Linked DNA regions of Homo sapiens: all the other regions are linked to region 4. Evidence: promoter capture Hi-C in human tissues and cell types (Jung and others, 2019). All regions are on one chromosome and are shown on one strand. Each heading gives the region's core, a stretch centred on a gene start or on the middle of the fragment in contact. The rest is flanking DNA. Distances are from core to core; before and after follow the strand shown.

Region 1 (2,700 bases), core at 166-2,665, 1.2 Mb before region 4:
GTGATTCTCCTGCCTCAGCCTCTGAGCAGCTGAGATTACAGGTGCCTGCCACCACACCCGGCCAATTCTTTGTATTTTTAGTAGGAAGGGGTTTCACCTTGTTGGCCAGGCTGGTCTTGAACTCCTGACCTCAAGTGATTAACCCACCTTGCCTCTCGAAGTGGTGGGATTACAGGCCTGAGCCACCGCACCCGGCCAACATGCTGTTTTAGTAAGTGTGATGTTAGGCCGGGCGCAGTGGCTCACGCCTGTCATCCCATCACTTCGGGAGGCTGAGGCGGGCGGATCACGAGGTCAGGAGTTTGAGACCAGCCTGGCCAACATAGTGCGACCCCGTCTCTACTGAAAAATACAAAAATTAGCCAGGAGTGGTGGCGCGTGCCTGTATTCCCAGCTACTCTAGAGGCTGAGGCAGGAGAATCGCTTGAACCCGGGAGGCGGAGGTTGCAGCCAGCCGAGATCGCGCCACTGCACACCAGCCTGGGTGACAGAGTGAGACTCCGTCTCAGAAAAAAGAAAAAGGTAGCTTTCCACCAGGCGCGATGGTTCACGCCTGTAATCCTGGTACTTTGGGAGACCAAGTTGGGGGCGGATGGCTTGAGCTCAGGAGTTCCAGACCAGCCTGGACAACGTAGTGAAACCCTGTCTTTACAAAAGAATACAAAAATTAGCCGGGTGTGGTGGTGCGCGCCTGTAGTCCCAGCTACCTGGGGGGCCGAGGTGGAGGATCACTTGAGTCCAGAAAGCGGAGGTTGCAATGAGCCAAGCACTCCGCTTGGAGGACTGAACTGCTGTCCTCCAAGGTTGGGTTGGGGAATGGGGTCTGGAGAGGTAGTTCTGAGGCCCCAGTTCCTTTCTCAAAAAAAAAAAAAAAAAAAAAAAAAGTCACTTAACTGATGCCTCTGCAGTGTAACTGCATATTTCTGGCTCTGGGAAAAGAGGCAAGAGTTCCAATCTCTACTCCTTGAACTCGGAAAGGGGCCTTTGGGTTTCTAAGCTCAGTGTCACATATAACAGATGCCTTCGTTAAAGCAGTGTTTATTTTATGTCTAATTTAAAGAGACAGGGTCTCACTATGTTGCGCAGGTTGGAGTACAGTGGCACAACCATGGCTCACTGCAGTCTCGAACTCCTGGACTCAAGGGATCCTACCCCTTCACCTTCCTGAGTATCTGGAACTACAGGCGCGCGCCACCCCGCCTGGCTTGAGTTTCGTTTTTAGCTAGAGTTGGCTGGCTCTCGGTATCGGCTAGTTTAAAAAGCGCAGAAACAGGAACCTGCATTTTCCAGCCTAAGGCCGACGCAGTTGCAAGAGACCCTGTAAGCGGGGCGATGTTCTGTATTAAGCCAGTGTCTGACTTCGTCGCTTCCGGTGGGCGCATAAACGTCATCAGACAGCGCCGGAAGTGCCCTCGTGCTGCCTAGGAGACAAGACGCGAGGCCGGCAGCGCCCACCCGGTCGCAATGGAGCTTCCCCTAGGGCGGTGCGATGATTCCCGCACCTGGGACGATGACTCGGACCCAGAGTCAGAGACAGACCCAGACGCGCAGGCCAAGGCCTACGTGGCCCGCGTTCTCAGTCCGCCAAAATCCGGGCTGGCGTTCTCGCGCCCCTCGCAGCTATCCACACCCGCCGCGTCCCCGAGCGCTTCGGAGCCTCGGGCCGCGTCCAGGGTTTCGGCCGTAAGTGAGCCGGGCCTTCTGAGCCTTCCCCCGGAGCTGCTGCTCGAGATCTGCTCCTACCTGGACGCCCGCCTCGTGCTCCACGTCCTGTCGCGGGTGTGCCACGCGCTCCGCGACCTCGTGTCTGACCATGTCACCTGGAGGCTACGCGCGCTACGCCGCGTACGCGCGCCCTACCCAGTGGTGGAAGGTGCGCGGGGCCGGGGGCCGGGGACCGGGGGCCGGGGGCGCCCGCCCAGGTCAGGCTTGGGGCGGGGAAGAGGTACATGGGGTGTTCCGGATGCAGCCTCTGGTGCAGGCTTCGTGGCTGTCCTGGCTCAGGCTGGAGGCTAAGGTAGTTACTGGTGGTGCCGAAGCCCCTGAGGACCTCTGGGTGGACCACGAGGCAGTCAGGCACTTGGGGTCCTGAGGCTGTGAAACCCTAACATGGGGCTGTGGTTCCTGGACGACTCAGGATCCAAATATCCTCAGTCTTGGGGTCTTGTGGTACTAAGCCACTGACCCCTGATTGGGGATTGACACAGGGACTTGAAGTCTTAGGCTCTGGAGTTTATGCTGGGGCTCAAAGTGAGCCCAAGGATCCTCAGGTTCTGAGTCCAGCTTAGAAGCTGAGACAGCACCTGTTGATGTCAAAACTCCTGAGCCCTAGAGCCTTGACCCAGTTAGGGGTGAGACAGTGGCTCTTGGCCCTGAGTTGATTGGTTCCTGAGGGAAGACAGCTTGGGACCTTTGAATCGATATTGTTGATCCTGATACAGCTGGATCCTCAGGCCCTTAAGCCAAGATGTATTACAGCTTGGGTGTTTGATACCCTTAACCTGGAAGCTTTGATTCTGCTTAGAGAGGAATCAGGATCACTCCGGGATCAGTGATTCTCAAGGTGTTGCCATCCAACCCCCAGGTCAGACTCTCCCAAACAGCTTAATAAACATAGATGCTTGGACCCCGTCCATATCACAGAATCTGCATCTGGGGCTTGCATTCTGCATCTTGACAAGGCTCCCTGGTTTCCAGATA
Region 2 (2,817 bases), core at 144-2,643, 1.3 Mb after region 4:
AGGATTGCTTGAGCCCAGGAGTTTGAGGCTGTAGTGAGCTATGATCATGTCACTGTACTCCAGCCTGTGGTGACAGTGAGACCCTAGCTGGGTTGCTGTTGTTGTTGTTTAAAAAAAGGCCGGACACGTAGCTCACACCTATAATCCCAGTACTTTGGGAGGCTGAGGCGAGTGGATCACTTGAGGTCAGGTGTTTGAGACCAGCCTGGCCAACATGGTGAAACCCCATCTCTACTAAAAATACAAAAAATTAGCTGGACATGGTGGCTCGTTCCTGTAGTCCCAGCTACTTGGAAGGCTAAGGCAAGAGAATTGCTTGAACCTGGGAGATGGAGGTAGCAGTGAGCCAAGATCACACCATTGCACTCCAGCCTGGGCATCAGAGTGAGACTCTATCTCAAAAAAAAAAAAAAAAAAAAAAAAAAAGGCCTGGTGCGGTGGCTTACACCTGTGATCCCAGCACTTTGAGAGGCCGAGGTGGGTGTATCACAGGTCAGGAGTTGGCCTGGCTAACATGGTGAAGCCTTGTATTTACTAAAAATACAAAAATTAGCCGGGCATGGTGGCAAGTGCCTGTAATTCCAGCTACTTGGGAGGCTGAGGCAGGTGAACTGCTTGAATCCGGGAGGCAGAGGTTGCAGTGGGCTGAGATTGTGCCACTGCACTCCAGCCTGGGTGACAGAGTAAGACTCTGTCTCTAAATAAATAAATAAATAAATAAATAAATAAAATAAAGCTTTCTAGCCGAAGCGTTTGGAAGGGACTCTCCAGGGCAGCTGGGAGGTCAGGGAGGAGGCTTCTAGAATGAAGTCCAGGTGAGTGATGATGGCAGTTTGGGCTGGGGTAGCAGGAGCGTGGATAAGTAGAAAGACTTGGCTTATATTTTAGAGGAAGAACCAGCAGAGCTTGCTCATGTTTTGCATGTGAGGCAAGGAGAGGCATGAAAGGAGATGCCTGGATTTTTTGCCCAGACAACTTGGAAGCAAATTCCAACTTGCAGGGTACCCTTAAGGCAAATCGTTTCCATATCTGAGTTTTTTCCCCATATCTGGAAGATGGGTCAAGCTATCTCTTCCTGACAAGGTTGACAATGCTGTTACAAAGGAAATCTAGCTTAGAGGAAGTCTCCAATAAATGCAGCTGGTCTCCTTGCGTTGAAGTCCCTGAGTAGGAGGTCTGTTCATCTGTCCCCTCTTCTTATTTCCTCCCCTGGCTCTAAGGTGGGTTAGGGGCCCTGATCATGGGTTCTGACAGGTTTATGGGCCTAAGGTTCACTCTGGTGAGACTGTCTTCTGTCATTCCCTTTCTGTTCCTACCCTAGTCCAGCTTCCTTCAAGTGCTATCCCTTTGGTCTCCCATGGCCTGGACAACTGGCCATCCCTGGGGCCACTGTTTTGCCCTCAGGTTCTGGATGAAAGACAGCTGGATTCATGGTCCGTACTGCTGAGTGAGTCTATGATCTTGGGTAAGTGGCCTCTGAGAGTCCTATGTGATGAATATTTCAGGCCATGGCAAACAGGGTCCTGCTACCTACCTTTTATGGTTAAGGATTAAATTAAATAATTCCCAGGCTGGGCAACATGGGACACCCTGTCTCTACAAAAATATATAAAAAATTAGTCAAGCCTGGTGGTGTGTGCCTGTGGGTCCCAGCTACTTGGGAGGCTGAGATGGGAGGATTGCTTGAGCTTGGGAGGCTGAGGTTACAGTGAATGGTGATCGTGCCACTGCATTCCAGCCTGGGTGACAGAGTGAGACCCTGTCTCAAAATAGAAGAAGGCTGGGCACAGTAGCTCAAGCCTGTAATTATAGCACTTTGGGAGGCTGAGGCAGGAGGATCACTTGAGTTCAGGAGTTTGAGACCAGCCTGGGCAACACGGCAAAACCTTGTCTCTACAAAAATTAACCAGGCGTGCTGGCGCATGCCTGTATTCCTAGCCACTCGGGAGGCCGAGGCAAGATAATTGCTTGAGCCTGGAAGGTGGAGGTTGCAGTGAGCCGAGATTGCACACCATTCCATTCCAGCCTGAGAGACGGGAGTGAAACCCTGTCTCAAAAAACAAAACAAAACAAAACAGCCAGGCGCGGTGGCTCACGCCTGTAATCCCAGCAATTTGGGAGGCCGAGGCAGGCAGATCACGAGGTCAGGAGTTAGACGCCAGTCTGGCCAACATAGTGAAACCTCGTCTCTACTAAAAATAAACAAAAAATTAGCTGGGCTTGGTGGCGGGCACCTGTAATCCCAGCTACTCAGGAGACTGAGGCAGGAGAATTGCGTGAACCCGGGAGGCGGAGCTTGCAGTCAGCCGAGATCGCACCACTGCACTCCAACCTGGGCTACAGAGCGAGACTCAGTCTCAAAAACAAAAAACAAACAACAAAAACAAAAAGCCCCAGGCACAGTGGCTCATGCCTGTAATTGCTTGAGCTCAAGAGTTCAAGACCAGCCTGGGCAACATAGTAAGACCCTGTCTCTATTAAAAAAAAAAAATTGAAAAAGAAAAAGTTATCTAAAGAGCCTGGTAGACTACGTAAGTGCTGATTCAATATTAATCGCTGGGAATTTTAGTCTTATTATTCAGTCTTCCTGGGTCCTGCCAAGTGTGAGCAATTCATAGCAAATGGAGGGTCTGTGTGAAGGTTCACTTCTGGCCAGGATGACCCTTCCCTACCAGCTGTTGGGGGAACTGTGTGTGCATGTATATGTACATGCATATAAACACATTCACTTGTGAATTTTATAATACAAATATTTTGCAATACAAAAATGTAAAAGTATGCCCTAATTTTAAACTCCTTTCTGGTGCTTCTTGTGGT
Region 3 (2,846 bases), core at 184-2,683, 1.2 Mb before region 4:
GGCAGATCACAAGGTCAGGAGTTCAAGATCAGCCTCGCCAATATGGTGAAACCCTGTTTCTACTAAAAATACAAAAATTAGCTGGGTGTGGTGGCGGGTGCCTGTAGTCCCAGGTACTCGGGAGGCTGAGGCAGAATAGCTTGAATCCCGGAGGCGGAGGTTGCAATGAGCTGAGATCCCACCATTGCACTCCAGCCTGGGCGACAGGGCAAGACAGTGTCTCAAAAAAAAAAAAAAAAAAAAAAAAAAAAAAAAAAAAAGAAAGAAAGAAAGAAATAGGAAAACTGGGCCGGGCACAGTAATCCCAGCACTTTGGGAGGTCGAGGCAGGTGGATCACCTGAGGTCAGGAGTTCAAGACCAGCCTGGCCAACATGGCAAAACCCCATCTCTATTAAAAATGCAAAAAATTAGCCTGGCGTGGTGGCAGGCGCCTGTAATTCCAGCTACTCGGAAGGCTGAGGCAGGAGAATCGCTTGAATCCGGGGGCGGAGGTTGCAGTGAGCCGAGATTGAGCCATTGCACTTCAGCCGGGACAATGAGAGCAAGACACCATCTCAAAAAACAAAAAAACAAAAAAAGCCAGGCGCGGTGGCTCACGCCTGTAATCCCAACACTTTGGGAGGCCAAGGCAGGCAGATCATGAGGTCAAGAAATCAAGACCATCCTGGTCAACATTGTGAAACCCCATCTCTATTAAAAAAAATTAGCCGGGCGTGGTGGCGCATGCCTGTAATCCCAGCTACTCGGGAGGCTGAGGCAGGAGAATCGCTTGAACCCGGGAGGCGGAGGTTACAATGAGCTGAGATCGCGCCACTGCACTTCAGCCTTGTAACAGAGCGAGACTCCGTCTCAAAAACAAAACAAAACAAAACAAAGAAATAGAAAAACAAAAACAACAAAACAACAAAAACCCAAAACCTTGTCCTGATTCAACACTCAAATTCACCAGCTGGAGAGGAAGAAAAAATTCCGTGACCACACAAGGGCCAACAATGTGGACCACACATGCAGCAGGGGCTACTTTGTTCTGCCCCAAGGCTTGCGGAGGGCCGCTGAAAATTTGCCATATTATATGAAGGGGGTGAACCTTAACAAATTGTCTCCTGCATCCCAAACTCGCTCCCCATCTGATCTTTATCTGGGGCAGCCCCCAAATTTGACCAGAAAGCTCTTATCGTTCACACTCGCTCCAGGAACCCCCAAATCCAGCCCCAGCTCCCCAGTCTCACTCTTCTGCTCCCCATGCACCTCGGTTGGTCTAGAGACCCTCCTGCCAATTTGAGTCTCAGCCAAAACCCCAAAGCGCGGCGACCCTGGCGCATGGCAGGACGGGATTTGTAGTTCCAGGGCTTATCGGAGGGTGGGGGAGAGGGAGGCCTTTACGCATGCCTTGGTGGCGGCTTTCTGCACGTGTTTCTCAGCCCAGGTTTCAGTCCAGCGGAACTGGCTACCTCGGAATCCCAACTGCTCCTTTAGGGTGTCTTCCGCGATTCTCCGAGTGGAGTTAGGCGCCTGCCGACACTTCCCTAACCTTGGAGGCCCGGGACTTGATTTTCATGAATGAACGGAGCCGGGACTGACTTTGCCTACGGCAAGTGGGTTGAGATAGCTGTTCCCCTCCTTCAGGCAGGGGCAAAAATTGACCTCTGCCTCTCTCGAGGGTCAAAAAGTTCCTCAGGGCAGGGTGGGTTGTTCTTTGGGATTAGAGCTGGTGAATTCATTAAATATCGGCTTAGGGAGGGGCTGAATACAGTAAAAGAACAGCCTTGAGCCTTGGAGGGTAAAGCCACGTTTTTAAGGAACAATTCAGAGCTGGCCAGGTCATGCTTAACTTGGATGATCTCTAATCGCGCGAACTGCTCTTATACCCATTTGACAAGTGGGGAAACTGAGGCTTCAAGTGGCAGGAGGTCTCCCACTTTGTTATCGGCAGGGCAGGGAGGGGAAACCAAGACGCTACAGGGTCTCCAGCTTTTTACCATCTGCTCCTCTCTCAAGAGAAGGAAAAACGGTGCCCTACTGTCTTCAGACGTCGCAAGGATCAAGAAGATTTCTTTCTTCATGACCCTGCCCTTGCCAGAATTTCCTGCGCTGTTCCACCTCATTCAACTTCAGGTAGGGAAAGGGATTAGGCGTGGTTCAAAGTTTATTTTATTAGTTCATTTCGTTTTATTCAAAAATTTATATCCTTGTGGCTTTTTCATCTCCTTGTAAAAACTATCAAACAGTACTGGAAAATAATGCAAAAAGTGGCAGAGGCTTCTGTAGGAACCCGGCTTGTCTCAGGCACTTACTTTGTCCTGCTTTCTTTCCTTTGTCTCTGGGGTATAAAGAGCACGCTCAGCTCTTTCCTTGCGCACACACAGCGTACTCCTCCCAAGTACCTCTGGATGGGGGAAGGGAGGCACATTTCAATTTTTAGTGGAGGAAGGTGACAAGGAGGGTGCTGGCTCTGGCCGAGGGGTTCCTGGATCCATCACACACAAAGTCCCCACGCGCTACCAAACTCCTGGCTCCAGCTAAAGAGCTTGCGGTCAGGTCAGTGAAAGATGCTGGGAAAACGAGACACTGGGAGGACCGGCTGGCTAGAGAGGCCAAAGAAACGGCAACTCTTTGGTCACGTGACCGGACCTTGTCTCAGCCCGGGTTTCCCAAGTGCCAGGGCACGTGTGAAGGTTGAACCTTCCGATTGGCTCGGCGGGACCAGTTTGAACGGAGTACGGGAGCCGCGGCGGCTCACCTACGGCCGCGTTTTTCTTTTTTTTTTTTCTTTCTTTCTTTTTTTTTTTTTTTTTTTTTTTTAATTCTCTCTCTTTGGCTCCCTCCTTCCGCGCGAGTCTCTGGA
Region 4 (2,890 bases), core at 292-2,791:
GGGGCTACCCCAGCCGGGGACAGAAGAATCGGCAAGGATGAGCGAGTCCGGCCGCTGGGGCCGCCCCCGCGAGCTCCCTCCCCCCGCGAGGCAGGTCCCCTCCACTCTCCCCGCACTGCCGGAGCCGGCAGGTTTCCATGGGAACCGCAGCGGGGTCCGCGCGCCCAGGAGCAGCCCCCCTCCTAGCTCAGTTTCCGATGACGGAAACCGGGAGGAACACGGGGTGGGGAACAGACCATCGCTTGGGGCCCCTAGCGCCCGCAGCCAGGTCGCCCCGGCGAGCCCAAGAGGGGCCACCCGGGGATCTGCACCGCCACCGCCCCTATTGCGCGGGCCACTGCGATTGGCCTGCCCTTTCCAGGCGTGGCAGCATCCCCTGGTGCGCGCACTCCCATTGGCTCGATCTCTAGGGCATCTTCCAGTAACTGGTTATCTCAAGGGCCGCCCCTGATTGGGCAAATTAGGCTCTCCTCGCTGGTGGCGCTCTCTGACAGTCTGGAGCCTAAAGGGCGTGCAGGAACGAGGATTGGGTGGGGACTGCCGCTCTCCAGTTAGGGGGTCTGGGCTACCTCGCCGGCAGCGCCCTCGACCGGACTGTCGGATTGCTGTCTGTGGTGCTGAAGCCTCACGCCCTGGCGACCCCGCCCCAGTGTGTGCTAGTTCCCGCGCCCCGACGTAAACATGCACCGGCGCCCGCGCACCAAAGGAGGCTGCGCCACCCCCAACGCCTTAGAGAGAGGCCAGGTTCCCCCTAGCAGAGAGCGAGCATGACTCCACAGTCAGGAGGACCAATCACGAGCCTAGAAAGCCAGGACATTTATGTGGCAGATCCACCCACCCCAGTTCTGTGGGGTCCAAGAAGGATCCGTGGTTTCCCAGAGCTGCATGGCTCCAGCGATGATTGTCCAGAACACTGAGCCCCAAACCTTTTCACCCCCTTCGGAGCAGTGCGGAGTTTCCTTGCACTGGGGAGTGCCAGTCCTTACCTTTTGAACCCTAGAAGGATCCAGCTCACTCAAAACCAACAGCGTCCCAGTCTCCTTCTGCAGAAGACTAGGGCCACAGTAGCCACCCTCCCCCGTGGTCTTGAGGTGGTCTACACTGGTGCCTCCAAATCTGGGGACCCAGGCCTCTGCCTACTAAAATATTGGTTCCTGATCCCCTGTCCAGTTCCCTCAGTGGACAACACCTCTGGAAGGTCGCATATTCAGGCCACTAATACCTCCTCGCTCTGTTGGCTCCTCCAGCTCTAGGAGCTGGACGGAGGAGGGGAGCCCGTCTCCTGGCCCGAAAGCCAGCCCAAGAAGGGGTGCCAGGGTAGGAAGCAAGGGCCTCGAGGGAAGGAGGGCCCAAATCTGGCAACCCGAGCACCTAGGATGCGCTTTTGGGGGATTCAGAGTCCCGACCAGTGCGCGCTCACTTCCACCTGCCGCGCCGTCGGGAGCCGCGAGGAGGCGGAGCTCGGTCGCCGCAGCCAATGAGCGACGCCGGCGCTGGCAGCTGCTGCTATAAAGGGCTGGGGGCGGCGGCGGCGCGGTCCAGAGCGCGGAGCGCGCAGCGCGGGCCGGAGGGAGGGAGGGAGGGTGGGCGAGGGGAGAGGACTTGAACACACGGGACCGGACAGGACCGACCGAGGGGCGGCGGCGAAAGGCAGAGCGCCGCGATCTCTGTCGGGAAGCGCAACCTCCCCGGGCCCCGCGGGGCCGCGCAGGGGGCGTCCTCAACCCCGCGCCCGCTCCCTCTTTCCATCCCCTGCCGCCCGCAGGCCACCCCGGGGCCCGGCCATCCGCGCGCGCATCCCCGGGTTCGGGCCCGTCCCTGGCCCTCGAGGGAGCCGCCGCCTTCATCGCCACATCTGCAGCGGCCGCACCAGAGGCCGCCCGGGCGGGACCCCAGCGTGAGCATCGGGCGCCCCCCTAGGAGTGCACCACCCCCGGAGCCCCCCTCAACACGGACCGCGCCCGCCGGGCACACAAGAATGGTCACTGTAGGTATTCCCCTGTCGCCGAAAGGGAATCGGGACGGGGAGGAGTTGGGCCCAGGCTCCGCGGAGATTGGGCGGGTGCGGCGGGGGGGGTAGGACCAGGCCTAGCTAGGCCCGGGTTGGGGGGGTAGGACCAAGCCTCGGGGCCTGAGAGTGGGCAGGGCCGCGCCCAGAGTGCTGAGGGCGCTTAGAGCTTGGTCTGAGAGGGCCTTAGGGAGACTGACTGCGATTCGGGAGGCGTCCGACGCCGCCCTGGAGGCGGGATTGCCCCCTCTCCAGCAGGCCTGATGGGGGAGGGGCCGCGGCGGCTAAGGATGCTTCCTCCATCCAGGCCCAGACCCCGCAGGCCGCCCAGGCAAACGCAGGGCCCGATCACTGGTGCTGGGCCAAGCCAAAGCGACAAAGCGTCCCCGAGAGCCCTGGGAAAGCGGGTGGCGTCGGATCGCGCGCCCCGGGCCTCGGCCGCACCCGGGAGGCGGGCGTCTCGTCCTCGAGCCCGTCGACCTTGCGGCAAGCGGGGAGGGGAGAGGAGGGGGCGCGCCCGGAGGCCCCGCGGGCCCGCCGCCGCTGCTGCCGCGTCCCTTTGTTTCTCGGCGCTTCTTCGCGGGCCGCAGCCTCGCGCGGGCGCCTCGGGCTGCGGGGAGGGGGAGGGGAGAGGAGGGCCCGCGGGTTGGGGGGGCACCTCTGGGCTCCCGGGTCTCCGCCCCCCGGGAGATGGGGTGGGAGGCCGAGACAGCCCCCTTAGGCCAGGTCCAGGCTCCCCACCTCGCCAAGGCTCTGGGCCGCGAGGTGACCTTGAGCGCGGCCCGCCCGCCTGCTCGCCCGCACCGCTAGCCCCGCGCTCGGTGCTTTCAGCAGCCACGGAGCTGGTCAGCTCCCGAGCGCGCAGCCCCTCCCGCCCTGCCA
Region 5 (2,776 bases), core at 54-2,553, 1.0 Mb before region 4:
AGAATCCTGGAATGAACCAGGATATGCTTGACAGTGAGTCTTATGTTAGATTTTCCTGTCTCATAGATTTTTTTTTTTAACCTTCACATGTATTATCTCTCTAAAATGAATGGAGGCCTGGTGCAGTGGCTCACACTTGTAATCCCAGCACTTTGGGAGGCCGAGCTAGGAGGATCACTTGAACTCAAGAGTTCAAGACCAGCCCGGGCAACCCTGCCGGTTGGTGAAACCCTGCCTCTACAAAAAATACAAAAATTAGCCAGGCATGGTGGTATGTGCCTGTAGTTCCAGCTACTCAGGAGGCTGAGTTGGGAGGATCACTTGAGCAGGGGAGGCTGAGGCTGCAGTGAGCTATGATCGATCGTGCCACTGTACTCCATCCTGGGTGACAGAGCAAGACCCTGTCTAAAAATATACATTAAAAAGGCCGGGCACGGTGGCTCACGCCTGTAATCCCAGCACTTTGGGAGGCCGAGGCAGGCAGATCACCTGAGGTCAGGAGTTCGAGACCAGCCTGACCAACATGGAGAAACCCCATCTCTACTAAAAATACAAAAAGATTAGCTGGGCATGGTGGCACATGCCTGTAATCCCAGCTACTCGGGAGGCTGAGGCAGGAGAATCACTTGAACCTGGGAGGTGGAGGTTGCTGTGAGCCAAGATTGTGCCATTGCACTCCAGCCTGGGCAACAAGAGTAAAACTCCGTCTCAAAAAAAATAAAAAATAAAAAAATAAAATGAACGAAGATATTTATCTGCACTATATTTTACTATTAAAGTCTTTAAATAATGTAGTTTTTTTTAAATTTTAAGTTGTCTTCATTAAGATTTAATCCTTTATACACTTTTAAAAGTGTAAACTATACGAAATGTAAAATTTCAAATCTTAAGAGAATCTGCATCATAGCATGTCTGTCCACTGTATCTCACACTGAGGGGTATTTTCAGGAAAGAGTAGCATATTATAGATTGGGCGCGGTGGCTCACGCCTGTAATCCCAGCACTTTGGGAGGCCGAGGCGGGCGGATCGCGAGGTCAGGAGATCGAGACCATCCTGGCTAACATGGTGAAACCCCAGCTCTACTAAAAATACAAAAAAATTAGCCAGGCGTGGTGATGGGCACCTGTAGTCCCAGCTACTCGGGAGGCTGAGGCAGGAGAATGGCGTGAACCCGGGAGGTGGAGCTTGCAGTGAGCCGAGATGGCGCCACTGCACTCCAGCCTGGGCAACAGAGCAAGACTCAGTCTCAAAAAAAGAGTAGCATATTATAATACATTAGGGTTTGGATATAACCATTAAATGTAGTAGAATTTTTCAAAGATTACACAAGCTTTGAGGAGTAGTTTTCCTCGTATCAATTAAAACAGGAATCCATTTGCCCTGGGAATAGTAGAGCCTTTGAAGTTTGAAAGTTTTCTAGGGATATGCACACACACAAACTAATGTAAAAATAAAAATGCACCTGAGAAGTTAAACATATCCATCTCACACCATGAGCTTCTTTTGCCTGAAAGGAATAAAAATTCTATTTGGTTCCAGGATTTGCTTCTCTTACATCATATTTCTCAATCAACTTAAATTTTCAAAGACCAACAAACTAAAAATCCTACAGACTCATACAGGGAATAAAATTACAAAATGTTAAAGGAAACTGGAGTTAAAGTGCTGCAATATTCAATAGAAAAAGGAATCCAAAGGAAAGAAACACAAACATTGAATCAGCTCAGATAAGCAGCCTGCTTCTCCGCAATTCAGAAGAAAAACCAACATCCAGAAGGTTAAACACATACCAAAGCTTGGAGTCCACACTCTCTCCCTGTTAGGGTATAGTCCCTAGAGTGGAATAGTCCCTGGTGACAGCAGGGACACCTGAGCAGCCACAGGAATGAACTCCGGGAGCAGAGAATGCCCCTTCCCACTGGTTCTCGTAAGTGACGAAACTGTCAGCTGGATTCAGATGAAGGTTCTGACACAAATGAACTCCCAAAGTCATTAACACCATGTCCAGGAGACAGAACTTGTAACTTTCACAGACTTTTTCAATATGGAAAAATTACACCACGAGTGTACCCTAATGTGAAAGCAAAACTCAAACCTAATGTCTAAAAGTAGACCCAAGGAAACTACAATTACAACCTAGACAATTAAAACCCTCCCGGTTCTCCTAAAACCGCGTGCGGTTCCCAGCATTCCAGTGCTCTGTAGCTTCTCTCTGTATAAAGAGCTCTTTCCTTGGTGGGTGAGAGCAAGTAGGACACTTTTGGGGAAGGCTCCCCAGGAAGACCCATCTGGGCTTTCAATGACCTCCCTTTGCAGGCTCAAGAGTGGTCTTAGCTTGAAGTCACTAGTCTCTGGCTGCTGCTCCCCAGTCATGGGGCTTTCAACCGCTATTGATGTTTATTTTTTTGAGACAGGGTCTCCCTCTGTCACCCAGGCTGTAGCGCAGTGGCGAGATCATAGCTCACCGCAGCCTCGACCTCCAGGGCTTGGGCTTAAGTGAGCCTCCCACCTCAGCCCCCTGAGTAGCTGGGACTACAAGCACAGGCCATCATGCAGCTAATTTTTGTATTTTTAGTAGAGACGAGGGTTTCACCATGTTCGCCAGGCTGGTCTCGAACTCCTGACCTCAAATGATCCACCCACCTCGGCCTCCCAAAGTGCTGGGATTACAGGCGTGAGCCATCACGCCCAGTTGAAAGACGGGAACTTTCAAAGTTGCTTTTCTGGTAAAAGTTAAAGCAGAGGGGACTTTCTTTATCATGTTGGCTAAAACTG

The links. Contacts are between HindIII fragments. The study calls those that stand out against the background at their distance.
Region 1: a contact is called between the fragment with the promoter of FBXW9 here and the fragment with the promoter of ELAVL3 in region 4, in 2 of the 25 tissues and cell types used here (IMR-90 fibroblasts and dorsolateral prefrontal cortex).
Region 2: a fragment that was not itself captured here is called in contact with the fragment with the promoter of ELAVL3 in region 4 in 1 of the 25 tissues and cell types used here (pancreas).
Region 3: the fragment with the promoter of TNPO2 here is called in contact with the fragment with the promoter of ELAVL3 in region 4 in 1 of the 25 tissues and cell types used here (dorsolateral prefrontal cortex).
Region 5: a fragment that was not itself captured here is called in contact with the fragment with the promoter of ELAVL3 in region 4 in 1 of the 25 tissues and cell types used here (dorsolateral prefrontal cortex).

The regions. Positions count from the first base shown.
Region 1 is chr19:12,695,346-12,698,045 of GRCh38, reverse strand. FBXW9 (F-box and WD repeat domain containing 9) reads left to right here and starts at 1,415. Exons shown (of 10, transcript NM_032301.3): 1 at 1,415-1,873. The coding sequence starts at 1,465. RefSeq lists enhancers at 1,086-1,145, 1,456-1,505. The HindIII fragment of the contact is 8,232 bases long and covers 1-2,700 here.
Region 2 is chr19:10,199,522-10,202,338 of GRCh38, reverse strand. No RefSeq gene overlaps it. Among named protein-coding and RNA genes, the nearest start is that of DNMT1, 6.0 kb to the right of the region's middle. RefSeq lists an enhancer at 1,677-2,177. The HindIII fragment of the contact is 3,674 bases long and covers 1-2,817 here.
Region 3 is chr19:12,722,519-12,725,364 of GRCh38, reverse strand. TNPO2 (transportin 2) reads left to right here and starts at 1,433. Exons shown (of 26, transcript NM_001382241.1): 1 at 1,433-1,596; 2 at 2,000-2,116. RefSeq lists enhancers at 1,046-1,662, 1,663-2,281, 2,334-2,483, 2,282-2,846. The HindIII fragment of the contact is 34,827 bases long and covers 1-2,846 here.
Region 4 is chr19:11,479,697-11,482,586 of GRCh38, reverse strand. ELAVL3 (ELAV like RNA binding protein 3) reads left to right here and starts at 1,541. Exons shown (of 7, transcript NM_001420.4): 1 at 1,541-1,987. The coding sequence starts at 1,979. RefSeq lists silencers at 1-174, 205-454, 2,829-2,890. The HindIII fragment of the contact is 31,814 bases long and covers 1-2,890 here.
Region 5 is chr19:12,496,305-12,499,080 of GRCh38, reverse strand. No RefSeq gene overlaps it. Among named protein-coding and RNA genes, the nearest start is that of ZNF709, 13 kb to the right of the region's middle. The HindIII fragment of the contact is 4,297 bases long and covers 1-2,776 here.